Regions from separate parts of the Homo sapiens genome. Here region 2 is linked to region 1. Evidence: promoter capture Hi-C in 16 types of primary human blood cells and fetal thymus (Javierre and others, 2016). All regions are on one chromosome and are shown on one strand. Each heading gives the region's core, a stretch centred on a gene start or on the middle of the fragment in contact. The rest is flanking DNA. Distances are from core to core; before and after follow the strand shown. Region 1 holds the start of MED13L (mediator complex subunit 13L). Region 2 overlaps MED13L (mediator complex subunit 13L).

Region 1 (6,721 bases), core at 2,249-4,748:
GTGGCTTTAATTTCTGCTTTTTCTTATGATGAGTGTGTTAGTCGGCTCCAGCTGCTATAACAAATTACCATAGACTGGGTGGCTTTAAACAACAGACATTTACTTCACACAGTTCTGGAGGCTGGGAAGTCCACGATCAGGTGCTGGCCATTTCAGTTCCTGGTAAGGACCCTCTTCTTGGTTATGTCTTCACACAGTAGAGAGAGAGAAGCAAACTCCCTTGTGTCTCTTCCTACAACGGCACTAATTCCATCACGAGGGCTCCACTCTTATGCTAATTACCTCCCAAGGGCTCCACCTTCAAATATCTTTACAGTGGTGAGTAGAGTTTCAACATATGAAGTTTGGGGAGGACACAAACATTCAGCCAATAACAACGAGTGAGGTTGAGTAACATTTTATATACAATCAAGTGTCAATGATGGGGATGTGTTCTGAGAAATGTAACACTGGTGATTTCCTCATTGTGCAAACATCATAAAGTGCACTTGCACAAACCTAGATGAGATAGTCTACTGCACAGCTAGGCTAAATGGTATAGCCTATTGCTCCTAGGCTACAAACCTGTATGGCATGTTACTGTACTGAATACTGTAGGCAGTTGTAATATAATGGTGTTTGTGTATCTAAACACATCTAAGCTTAGAAAAAGTACAGTACAAATATGGTATTATAATCTTATGGGACCACTGTCATATATGTGGTCCACTGTTGTCCAAAATGTAGTACATGACTGCATTTAAAAGCTGGTCTTCTCTATTCTGTAAACTGTCCAAGTCCTTTATTCATGTTTCTATTAGGTTTTGCTCTGAAAGATTTATCATTAGTATTTGATTTTTCGAGAGAGGGTCTCCGTCACACAGGCTGAAGTGCAGTGGCAAGATCATGGCTCACTGTAGCCTCAAATTCCTAGGCTCAATCGATCCTCCTATCTCAGCCTCCCAGGTAGCTGGGACTACAGGTGAGCACCTGGCTAATTCTTTTGTAGAGATGGGAGTTTGTCATGTTGCCTTGGCTGGTCTTGAATTCCTGGACTCAAGCGATCCGCTGGCCTTGGCCTCCCAAAGTGCTGGGACTACAGGTGTGAGCCACTGCACCTGGCCTATTACTATTTCTACTTAAACCTAAACATGCTGAAGAATGACAATTTGGTCACCAGGTGAGTAGGATAGAACTACCTTCACCTCTGATGTAAATATATGGAATCTGGATATGATGGGCATTATACCCTCGAATTGCTCAGGCCTAAGTAACACCGTGTATGTTGACAGAGTGGTTTTTTTTTTTTTTTTTTACTTTTACCAACAGTATCTTTATTTATTTATTTATTTATTTTTTTGATGGAGTCTCACTCTGTCGCCCAGGCTGGTGTGTAGTGGTGCAATCTCTGCTCACTGCAACCTCTGCTTCCTGGGTTCAAACGATTCTCTTGTCTCAGCCTCCCAAGCAGCTGGGACTACGGGCACACGCCACCACACCCGGCTAATTTTTGTATTTTTAGTATTTTTAGTAGAGACAGGGTTTCATCATGTTGGCCAGGCTGGTCTCGAGCTCCTCACCTCAGTTGGTCTGCCCGCCTTGGCCTTCCAAAGTGCACGGATTACAAGCGTGAGCGACTGCATCCGCTCATCAACAGTATCTTAATAGAAATTCTCAATATTGGCCTGAGGTCATTGGGTCAGCAATCAGGATCAATTTTTGAGATTAGGAAATGAGGCTCAAAGAGTTAAACTATGTTGGTCAAAATAATGCAATTAGAGGGATGGCAAAGCCAGCCAGAGGCATCTTTCTAAGGAGCCTCCTGAATTCATGCTCGGGCTCTGGAGTCAGAAGGACCTGAGTTTGAGCCATGTACTAACTGAGAGATTGGAGATGTCACTGCACACCTCTGAGTTTTACCTAATTACAGCCTAAGAATAATAACAGTATCTACTTTAGGTGGTTGTTCTGCGGATTATGTGAAATAATGTAGGTAACGACATTCATTGTAACAATATGTTGCATGATAATACACATTATAACATGTTGCTCATGAGTTTTGCTTTAGCAGTATTTGTGGTAGTTCCAAAACTCAGTTCACGTGTCTTAAGACTTCTCTTATTATACACTCTCATCTCTTCCCTGCTTTCTACTCTTCCTTTTTTTTTTTTTTTTTTTTTTTGAGACAGGGCCTCTCTCTGTCACTCAGGCTGGAGTACGGTGATGCGACCTCGGCTCACTGGGCTCACTGCAGCCTCTGCCTCCAGGGCTCAAGTTATCCTCCCACCTCAGCCTTTCGAGTAGCTAGGGCTACAGGCACATGCCACACTACGCCTGGCTAATTTTTGTATTTTTGTATTTTATTTTTTTTGTCATGACGGGGGTTCTTGCTACATTGCTCAGGCTGGTCTTAAACCTCGGCTAGGATTACCGGCGTGAGCCACTGTGCCAGCCATCCACTCTTCCTCTTTTAGCTTAATCTACCTGAAACAGCTGATTGTTCCATGTTTGGAGGCGTATTAGTGAAGACATTGTTTTCTCCTCCCCCTTTTCGGGGATCCATTTCTTGAGGACTGGGAGAGCTTCTCTTCATAGCAGCACTCCTCCGGACTCCCAGGCCATATACACTCAGGAAATGTTGGTTATCCAATGAATGACGCCAGGAAGAAGGGTCTGCTCCCAACACGGCCTTAGCACAGTGCCTGGAAGTTATAACAGATTCTGGCACACAGCAGGAGCTCAGGAAACATTTATGTAATGAATGAATGAATGAATGAATGAGTGCACACAGTAACTAGGAGTAAGGGCTCAATAAACATTTCTGTATTAAACGCACAGTGTCTGGAACACAGTAAGCGCTCCGTCTATGGCAGCCGTGAATATCCCTGGGCGAAGCCTGTGAAACCTTGTCCAAGAGCTTGGCTTCACTGTGCGCGGGTTCGAATCTGGACTCCTCTTCCCAAGTGTGCGACCTCGGGCAAGTGATTTAATCCCTTTGTGCTTTAGTTTTCTCCTCTGCAAAAGGCGGACGGCGGCGCGAGCCTCTGAGGACACATTCCCCAGGGCACTCGGACCCGCTGCCTGGCCCACATCGCGGCCGCCGCGCCACGCCAGCCGGCCTGGGCTGCGAGGGCACAGGCCGGGGGTCCCGCGCCCTCCTCCGCGGCCACCACGGGCGCGCCCGGGACCCACGGTCCCGCCCCGCCACGATCAGTGCACCGCGAGGGGGCGGGGCGGCCACGAGGGGCAGCCCACGGCAGCCACGGGCCGGCAGTCCGCCGCCCGCCGGGGAGCCCGGCCGCCCGCACTTCTTTCTCTCCCTCTCTGCCTCCCTCCCTCCCTCTTCCCGGCCGGAGGACCCGGCCGCGCTCAGCTCAGCAGCGCCTCCCGCGAGCCGCCGCCGCCGCCGCCACTCCGGACCCCTCCCCCGCCCGCCCCTCGCTCCCCCCGCGCGGCCGGCGCCCGTCACGTGACCAAGCGCCAGCCAATGGCGGGCCGAGCCGCGGTCGGCGGCCGCCATTGCTGTCAGAGCAAGCGAGCCCGGGGAGGGAGGAGAAGCGAGGCTGACTGGGGAGGAGGGGGGGGTGGGGGAGGAAGAGGAAGGAGGGGACGTCGCTCGGCTGCCGGGGTCGCCCGCTGGCTTCGTCCGCACCCCCCCCTTCGCGAGTTCGCGCTCCGCGGCGGCGGCGGCTCCGAGGCGGCGGCGGCGGCTCCGGGGCTCGCCTCCCCTCGCGCGCCGGCGGGGGCCGAGGGGGAGTCGGTGGCTGGAGATAAACAAGGCGGCGGCAGCGGCAGCAGCGGCGGCGGCGGCGGCTGAGGAGCAGGGAAGGCGGAGGCGGTGGCCGGCCCGCAGCGCCGGCCCGGGGCGCGCGCCCCCCCCGCCAGCCCGGGCCCGCTGCCCCCGGCGCGGCGTCGCCGCGGCGCCTCCCGCCTGCCCGCCGGCCCTCGCGCCCTCCCCCGGCGGCGGCGGCGGCCCGGCCGCCCCGCGCTCCCCGGCGAGGCGCCGCCGCCCGGCCCGGCCTCGCCTCGGACGCCTCGCTCCGACATGCCCCGCTCTGGCGGCCGGGCTCGCGGAGGATCATGACTGCGGCAGCGAACTGGGTGGCGAACGGGGCGAGCCTGGAGGATTGTCACTCCAACCTCTTTTCGCTGGTGAGTAGCCGGGCTGCGGGGAGGGGGCTGTGCCGGGGAAGGGGGGGGGTCCCCGACCTCCGCCGCCGACCAACTTTCTCCTCCCGCCGCCGGGACTTCGCCCCTCCCTCGCGTCTCCCCGCCGTTCGCCTCTCGCCGATTCTCCCCCTTTTGGATCGTCTCTCTCTCGCCTTGGATCCCATCCAGTGTTTATTTGGCTCTTTAAAAATCATTTGTGAGCGCGGCGCTCGGCGTGGAATTTGCATGTGGAAGTCTCGGAGCTGCGGATTCTGGGTCGCACTTCGAACGCCCACCCTCTGTTGCAATCGCACTCCCCTTCTCCTCCCCTTTCCCCCCTTTTTTTCCCCCCGTAAATGTGGAAGGCTTTGCCTTGTGCTGCCGCGCCTCCGATCGGCAACCTCTTCCCCCGTTGTTGGATCAGCTGCCTGCCCGCCCGCCTGCCTTTTGAATTTTTTTAAATTCCATAATGACACCTGCAATTTCGCCCTAAAATAGTTGATTGAATGCGATTGTGTCAGGAAAGGACTCTTGCACCCGAAGCTCCCGCGATTGTAAACATCGACAGCCGCCTGCCTCTCGGGGCTTACTATGCTGGAGAGCCGTAAAGCCATTGCACCGAGCCGACGGAAGGTGGAGAAAGCTTTTTCTTCTTTCTCTCCTCCTGTGTCTTTTAAAAACTGTTTTTCTCTATCCTAACAACGAATCCGCACACACACACACACACACACACACACACACACACACACACACAAAAGCAACAAGCTGGTCGGTTTGATAACATCGCTTTTATCTGCCTTCGCCTCTCTCGCGCTCTCTCTTTCTGATAATTGACAACTTTTCCTTCGGATTTGAATCGCCTGCCTTAATCTTGAAGCAGTTAGGGTGTCAATTGTTCTCGTGGAAGCCTGGCACCCGCCGACGGTGTCTAGATTCATCGAAATTAAAAATGTATAGGGCTCCAGCAACTCTTTTCCTGGCGGTGTCAGTGACATTTGGTGGTAAATGCCATCTTTGCTTTTTATTGGGTCGTATTACCTACCTCTGAAAACATTCACGTTGTTAAACCTGGCGTTTAGGCTAATAATTGCAGTGCGTGGTCTTTAAATATGTGCTTTGTGCATGAGTTACTGTATGTATAGCTATGTGCCCAGGAGAGTACGAATTTGTTTAAATATTGAGCAAAGATTTGTAAACAGATGTAAGGCAATTACGTTTCAAGCGTAGAATATAATTGGAAAATTGGCTGAACGGTTTATTTAATTTAGCCTTAAAAACACCCAACTTGTTTTAAGTTGTGTACCCTGTTTTTTTTGGGGGGGAGGTGAGTCCCTTTTGGAGAGCATGCATTTTGGAAATTATTTTCTGTAACCCCCGCTGTAGATAGAAGCATTATTTCCCTCTTAATCCTTGTTTACACTGGATAAATAATTTAGTGTTCAAATTGTAATTAGTTACATTTAATTATGGGTGGCATAGATGCCTTTTTGCTATGAGACTAATGGAGAAATGCAAATTCTCGCCAACTTTTCAAATGAAAGTGTTACTTTATTAAATGTGTTACAATGCAGACCAAAAAATCAACACGTGATTTTTACCTACAAAGACATAGTATCATTGCTCCCACTCTAGTAAAATCAGGTAAATTTTTTTAAATGAAATATTTTAATCCAGATATTTAATCTTAAAATTCATTTATAAGTTGGAATTCTTTCTCTTAGTATTGTGATAATTTTCCCTTGATTTTTTGGTATGTGGGAGTAAAACCCCCTTTTGCCTCAACTTTTTCCCTCCTCAGTCTTATCATTTAGTATCAGTCAGGTTCAGGGACTTCCATAGATTAGCAAACATATTGATCAAGGGGTATTTAAAATGGTTTTTGTGTGGTTACTGGTGACCACATTGACACTTACAGGTAATTAAAATAACCAAGTAGAGCGATCTCCCAAATTATCATATATTATGCTGACTGGTAATGGCTGTGTATATACGGATTCTGTAGACAAATGAAAGTATATGTATAGCCAGTCTTTAGGGTATATCATTTCTTTTATCTTTTTTTTTTTTTTTTAAAGCTTAAGTAAGGATGATAACGTTACAGAGATAAAATGCTTGAGATTCTTTTGGAGAAGCAATTTTGTAGGAGAGGATTCTGTACTTTGATTTTGAATGACTAAAGGTTTGTGTTTGAGATATTTCTCCCCTAAACCTCTTTAAACCAAGGGATTGATTTTTGAATATGCTTTTTTAAAAAGAATTATTTTTTAAGTAGCAACTTTGAACTAGAGAACCATAGAAATGCTTAGTTGATTTTTTTTTTTAAAGGAACGTAGAATGTCTTCATTCTCTTGTACGTGGAGTGTGGATAAGGTGCTATTGAAGAAATGTAAATTAATTAAACTGCTGACTTGTACATTTTTCTGATTCCAAATTGAGATTTTTTTTTTTTGAAAATGCTATACAGCAGTAGCAACCTGGAATATTAAAAATATGTTGCCCAAAGTACATTGTATATCATAGTTATTTCTGAAGGAGATGTAATCACTTGTTCAAAATCATGTTTTTTTATAAGAACGCTTTATGGTTTAATAAT
Region 2 (6,721 bases), core at 1-2,500, 260 kb after region 1:
AGCACCCTTTCCTACCAAAATATAAAGTTGAGTTTCTCATTCTCTCTTTTGTAGTGAGCATTTGTCCTGTGCTTTCACATTCTTTCTGCATGGAGAAAGTAATGTATGCACAAGTGTGGAGATTGCCCAGCACCAGCCAATTTATTTGATCAATGAGGAGCATATACACATGGCTCAGTCTTCACCTGCACCATTTCAAGGTAAGTATGGGTGTTCCTGCTCTCCACCCCTATCCGCCACCGAGTGGATAACCATCTTGCCCAGTAAAGTTTTGCAGGGTGAGACCTTATCTTAAATGGACATTTTAAAGCTAAGCATAAGGGTCAGATTTTGAAGAAGGAAGAAAAGACTACCATTTCATAATTAAGTAGTAATAGTGTGTTAGTTTTTCGCTGAAGCTTATCGCATATATAAGATGGTCTTATGTGTATTCTTTTGTAAGAATAAAATGTAGAATTTCCTTCAGAACAAAAGAAAATCAATAAATACTTGAAAAATAGAATTCAATGAGTAATTGACCAAAGTCACAAATTAAAGGTTTTCATTGTTGTGTTTATTAACAAGGTTTTAGGAATGTAATGGTTTATAGAAGATAAACCAAATACTTAGTATTTGAAATTTCTATCAGAATCAAAGTTCTAGAATTATACAGTGTATAGTTTCTTCAGCGATGTTCCTAACTTTGTTTTAATTTTAAACTCCATTGGTAATAGGTATTTAGCTGTAATTTAAATGTAATTGATACATTCATATTTTCATTAATTCTCAGCTTTACCACCTATATATCACCAAAATAACTTCATGTCCTTTTGATCTGAGCATTACAAATCTTAGTTTTGTCTTTGGAATTCAGAATTTTCTGTGAGTAACAGCTTTTAAATGTTATAATATTAGATTGAACCGTATGGAAACAATCTTTTTTTGGTTCAGTCTAATATGTCATTATTAGAGATGACTGGTTGAAATAGTCTTAGCATATCACACAATATAATTTTAAAAAACACTGATATTTTAACAGACTTGACTAAAATATTATAATTGCTGTAAAAGCCTGTCATGAGCATTTAGCCTCCATTGTATTTATTTTTTGTTTTCTATAAACTATTCTGATTTAATTCAATGAAAGCATCTGTTTCTTGCCCCAAATATAATAAAACTACTAGAAAATTCAAAACCCAATTCTTAAACTGTACAGTACAAATTGTACAGTATTTGCAAATTATGGCTTATCAGAATTTTTAAAATACTGTTTTCTTGAGTGTAAAAGTGCTGAGGACCATCTGACTCCATCCAACATTTTATCACTCAGAATAAAAGCATTTAGTTATGGTAATAACAGAGGAATAAGTAGTCATGAGGGAAGAGAACTTATTTCTAATCTTCAATGTTGGGAACAATAATATTAGGAATACCAGGTCCCTATAGACCACTTTTAATTTTTCTGATTTTTGTCACTGATGGAAGTCATAGAATACTTTTGTGGAGCATTATTCTGCTTATTTTCCATGATTGGTGTGGAGGAAGACCATACTAAGGCAGTTGCTGTCCTTATGGATAATTATATTCATCATAATTATCCAAATTGATGTGGGAATTTCCTGGAAGCATTATTGCAAAAAAATTACCCTTGATTAACTGTGTTAGTTGGAGTCAGTATTTTTATCCCATTTGGATCATTGAGGAACAGCAGAAAGACTCAACGATACATGTGATGTCTATAACTGTCTCTCTCTTGATTGATGTGACATATGATCTAGCTCTTTAAAAAAATTAAAAAAAAGACATTCCGTTTAATGACCATGCTGAGTTTTTGTTAAAAATTAGAATTAAGAAAAAGTGGCCTTTATCTTCAGAAACGTATTATTTGGAAGATTGAAGTACTCACTTCAAGGCTATGAACTGGCTGGGTAATTCACAGTACTATATTAACTATATTTTTGTGTCTGACTCAGTGAAAATGCCATCAAGGTCAAATACTGAAAGAAGATAGAGGACTTTGGGTCCTTTACTTTGAGTTAAATCAAATTTTACTTAGAGTTGTTTTATCAACAGACCTCTAAAACAGTCAAAACAGAAACGATAACTATTATGCTTCAAGCTTTTGTACATTAAAACTTTCCCACTGTTAGAAATTTCATTTATATGTTATTCTTTGATTACCACAGATGTTTAGGGAGTCTCAGGAACCACAAGAGTGTTCAAGTTTTAGGCAGCATTTGCGGTCTCCATGTTGAATGATTTTCTTCTGTTTTGAGAGAGTCAGTGTTTACATTGTACAGGCTATTATTAAACAGATATGTATATGCTTCAAAGCATAGCTGTCTGATAACATTGTACTATCCATATTTTATTTCGTTTAAAAATTGTGGGAGGTGAGAGGTGTATAAATAATAAGAAATTTTAAAACAAGAAACTTCAAAATATCATACTTTTGTGGCTAAGGCGGGAGCATCACTTGAGCCTGGGAGTTCAAGACCAGCCTGAGCAACATAGTGAGACCCAGTCTCTACAAAAATAATTTTTAAAAAAATTTCTTTTAAATCATACTTTAAATAGAGTTAGGAAATAAAGAACAATGCACATTAAGTGATACTGTAACCTAAAATTACCACATATGTAGTGTTGCACTTAAGTAGGAATTATTTCTCTAATGTTTAGCATGTATTTCTCCTCCCCTCCATAGTACTGGTAAGTCCTTATGGCTTAAATGGGACGCTAACAGGCCAAGCATACAAGATGTCAGACCCAGCCACTCGTAAGTTGATTGAGGAATGGCAGTATTTCTACCCGATGGTGCTAAAAAAGAAAGAAGAATCGAAAGAGGAAGACGAGTTGGGATATGATGATGATTTCCCTGTGGCAGTTGAAGTAATTGTTGGTAAGAGAAAATATTTTGCCTGAAGAACTTTATTCTTCTTCCTCTTCCTTAATTTAAAAAGATAATCATTTAGATTCTTCAGAAATAATCTCCATACCCATCTTTTTAAAGAAATTCTCTTGACACAATGGTATGTACTGAGTAGTTATCTTGCCTGAAGCACCCTTGGTCCTTGTATTCCAAATGCTCTTATCATCATGTTGGAACACATGTTTAAACAGCTATTAACTTATGAAAGAATGGAGCCTATCACTTTTGGCAGTACTTCATGAGCATCTCATTTTCACCATTGGAATCATAAAATTGGAAGTCTTGTATGAATTCTTTCTCAGTCCTGATTCTTTCCTTGTTCTCTTTGCTTATAGGTGGTGTTCGGATGGTTTACCCTTCAGCATTTGTTTTGATCTCTCAGAATGACATCCCGGTTCCTCAGAGTGTTGCCAGTGCTGGAGGCCACATTGCAGTTGGGCAGCAAGGGCTTGGTAGTGTGAAGGACCCAAGTAACTGTGGGATGCCTCTGACCCCTCCCACCTCTCCAGAACAGGCTATCCTAGGTGAGTAGGATCCAGGAGTGTCCTGGGGAGAAGAGATCTCAGACAATTGTATAGTCTACCTGCCATGGAACAGGTGAGAAAACAGAAATTCCTGTTGGAAGAGATGGAGGTAGTAGAGTAACGTAAGGATATTACAAAATGGAGAAGGAAAACTATAAACAAACAGAATTCATACACTTCAGAATTTTAACTCTGTCCATATTAGTCTTTATTGTTATTAAATAGTTTAGATTCTGTTAAAGTTTGCACACACATCTGCCCCTGTATGTGTGTATGTGTTCACATATAGATAAAATGTAGGGTTTTTTTTTGTTTTTTTTTTTTTTAATTTTGAACAACTGAAGAATACTAAATCAGAGAGTAGCTGAAGCCTCTGCCCCGGTGACCATTGTCAGCCAGGGACAGGCCTTGAACAACTCTTTTCCCTGTTAGATGTAAAGTTAGACTAGTGCTTAGTAGCTCTGAATAAATACTTTTCTCTGTCAGTAAAGTGTCTGCATTAATAATAAATATTAATTATATGGGACAGTTTTGACAGTTGGAACTGCCTGTCTTCATGGAAAAATTCAGAAATTGTTTAAATTGGGAACATTTTTGCCTTCTTTATTGAGTAGTATAGTTCCTATATTAACTTTGTTATTGTTGTAGTTGACCTCACTTTAATTAGAACTGTGGTCAGTATGGAAAGGATACTCATCATACTTGAGCCGAAATGAGATTATTTATTTATAAGCATTGAATGTGGGCCAAGCTGGCAGGAACATTAGAGTAAATAAAGCCTTGGCTGCTAAACTTTGAAAATAAACTATCAAGCATGATACATACGTAATCCTCATGAAAATTACCAGAGTAAGACAAAATTTGAAAGTTTCTAGCACAATTCTTGGCAATTAGTGGGCATTAAATAAATGTTTATAGTTAAAGAAGATATTGGGGAAAAGCATATACTTTGTGATTGAGCGCACCTCGTTGTAAAACCTGGCTATATCGTTTACAAGGTGAGTGACCTTATTTAATTCTCGTAGTTTTTCTGAATCTTGGTTATTTTTTCTGATAAATACATACTTTACCGTGTTGTTGTACATACTAGGTAATATATACAAGTGCTTGGTAAACAATAAAGTCATATACAAGTGGTAGCAATAATTTAAAGCAATATTCAAAACTCGAAGTTTAGCACACATTGTCTGGAGGTAATTACTCAGATGTTTTGTGGGAGACATAGAAATGGACATGTATGTTTTTAAGAACCATGTATTTGCTGAGATGGTTAAAAAAAAAAAAAGAAGAAAAGAAAAGTACATCCAAGGCCAGGCATGATGGCTCATGCCTGTAATCCCATCATTTTGGAAAGTCATGGCAGGTGGATCGCTTGAGCTCAGGAGTTTCAGACCATCCTGGGCAACATGGTGGAATCCTGTTTCTACAAAAAATACAAAAATGAGCTATGCATGGTGACAAATGCCTGTAGTTCCAGCTACTTGGGAGGCTGAGGTGGGAAGATGGCTTGAGCCCTGGAGGTGGAGGTTGCCGTGAGCCAAGACAGCATCAGTGCACTCCACCATGGTCGACGGAGCTAGACCATATCTCAAAAAAATAAAAAAGTACTTGCGGCTTTCATTTGGTAGAGCAGAGAATTTGGATGATTCCTTGTGAAAGGATTTATCATCAATCAACTATATTAAACTAAAAAAGAACTTTCATAGTCTTTTGTAGTAATCATCATAGAGAAGATATATGAATATAAAAATTAGAATTATCAGTATTTTGAAGTTTTTAATTTCACATCACAATTTGGATTTTTAACAATTGCACTACATTAAGTTATCCACTTGTTATCTGTTTGTTTTTGTTTTGCCTTGTACTTAGTGAAATTTGTATTCAACTTAAAATTGAAGGCCTGCTGTGTAAATGAGGCTTTGACCTCTGGTCAGTTCAGAACTCTTAATAGTCATAATTCAGAAACAAGAGGTTTTTTTTGATGGGGGATTTCAGTGTGGACTAATTAACTATGGATCTTCAAATTCCTTCCCCTTTAACTCTGTATGCTATTGTGTTAGGCCTTGGATAAATAAATCCCCTGATGTCGCCTTATTCCTTAAAACAAACACACACAACTGAACAAAAGCTGCCGATATCCTTGTAGTAAAATGAATTTGCCTAAATTTTCATATCATAGGATGTTGAATTACAGGTTAGGAGTCTTAATGCTGTATCAGAGAGTATCCCGGTCAGCCTTGACATTCTGTAGTTGAATGCCATATTTTTCTAGATATAGGACAGAATGGGCTACTTTGCCGTCTAAAAAACACCAAGGTTCTCCTTGATTAGCAGAGGGCTTAGGAGGGCCGAATAGTATTAGTGACATTACTCATACCTTATTTGGATTGGTATATCCACTTGCCTCTTTGTTTGATATGTAGAGGTAATTGCAAGTAACAACATTCAACATGCATTTTAACAGATTGGAGTAACAAGTCTTGTTTAATTCCATCTAAGATACCACTCAGATTTTAGTTCAGTCATTTAAGTGCCACTGAAAAGCTTCAACCTAGCTTTAGTCAGAAAAGTCTCTATGGCTTGTTTCTCCCTACTCTTTTCTTTTCTTGGTCATAAATTGTTTCTTTATGATACCATGGGCATATGATCTCTTTAGCTATATCATAGGATGTTTTGGAGAGAAGGTCTATGTTATCTACTTCATACTTCTGTTTATTTCTTTAGTTTGCCTAGTTTTATAATTGGTGTTTGAAAAGCAATTGTAAAATTGAAATTAATTCTTTTGCATCATGAACCAAGTTGGGAACTTTTAAAATGTAGCAAAGTTCAAATTTCTTATCTCATTTGTAATATAGTAATACTTTTATCGGAAAGAAGAGCGCTTCATTTCCTTAGAATATAAGCATTTGGGTCTTTTTTTTAAATAGACGTAAGCCTGACCATTCAGCTTGTATCATCATCATCTTTCATTGATAATAAGAATACTTAGTTTGTGTTATAAAGTTGCTTCTTTCTTTTTCACCTTGACTTTCGTTAAGGTGTTTTGCATCATAGTTCTATTGAGAAGAAAATCCATAATATATACTTACTAAGTCAAATAGGTGAAAGTGATTCAATCAGAATTTAATACTGGAAATTGACTTTAGTATTTGTCTTATATAAGATAGAAGTAGTAAAATACTCAAAATGTAAACAACAACCAGTATCATCAATAATCATAATGAACATAGTTGAAAGAAATAGATTATATTTATAACCACTGTATTTGAAAAAACTAAGTGGAGTTACT

What was found. The method cuts DNA at HindIII sites, captures the fragments that hold promoters and counts their contacts. A CHiCAGO score of 5 or more calls a contact.
Region 2: a contact is called between a fragment that was not itself captured here and the fragment with the promoter of MED13L in region 1, in 16 of 17 cell types (M1 macrophages, megakaryocytes, erythroblasts and 13 more). The highest score is 15.3, in M1 macrophages.

The regions. Positions count from the first base shown.
Region 1 is chr12:116,274,470-116,281,190 of GRCh38, reverse strand. It overlaps MED13L (mediator complex subunit 13L), which reads left to right and starts at 3,498. Exons shown (of 31, transcript NM_015335.5): 1 at 3,498-4,131. The coding sequence starts at 4,060. RefSeq lists silencers at 3,090-3,149, 3,200-3,669. The HindIII fragment of the contact is 4,130 bases long and covers 644-4,773 here.
Region 2 is chr12:116,015,935-116,022,655 of GRCh38, reverse strand. It overlaps MED13L (mediator complex subunit 13L), which reads left to right. Exons shown (of 31, transcript NM_015335.5): 5 at 55-200; 6 at 2,684-2,878; 7 at 3,244-3,432. Among named protein-coding and RNA genes, the nearest start is that of MIR620, 130 kb to the left of the region's middle. The HindIII fragment of the contact is 1,700 bases long and covers 401-2,100 here.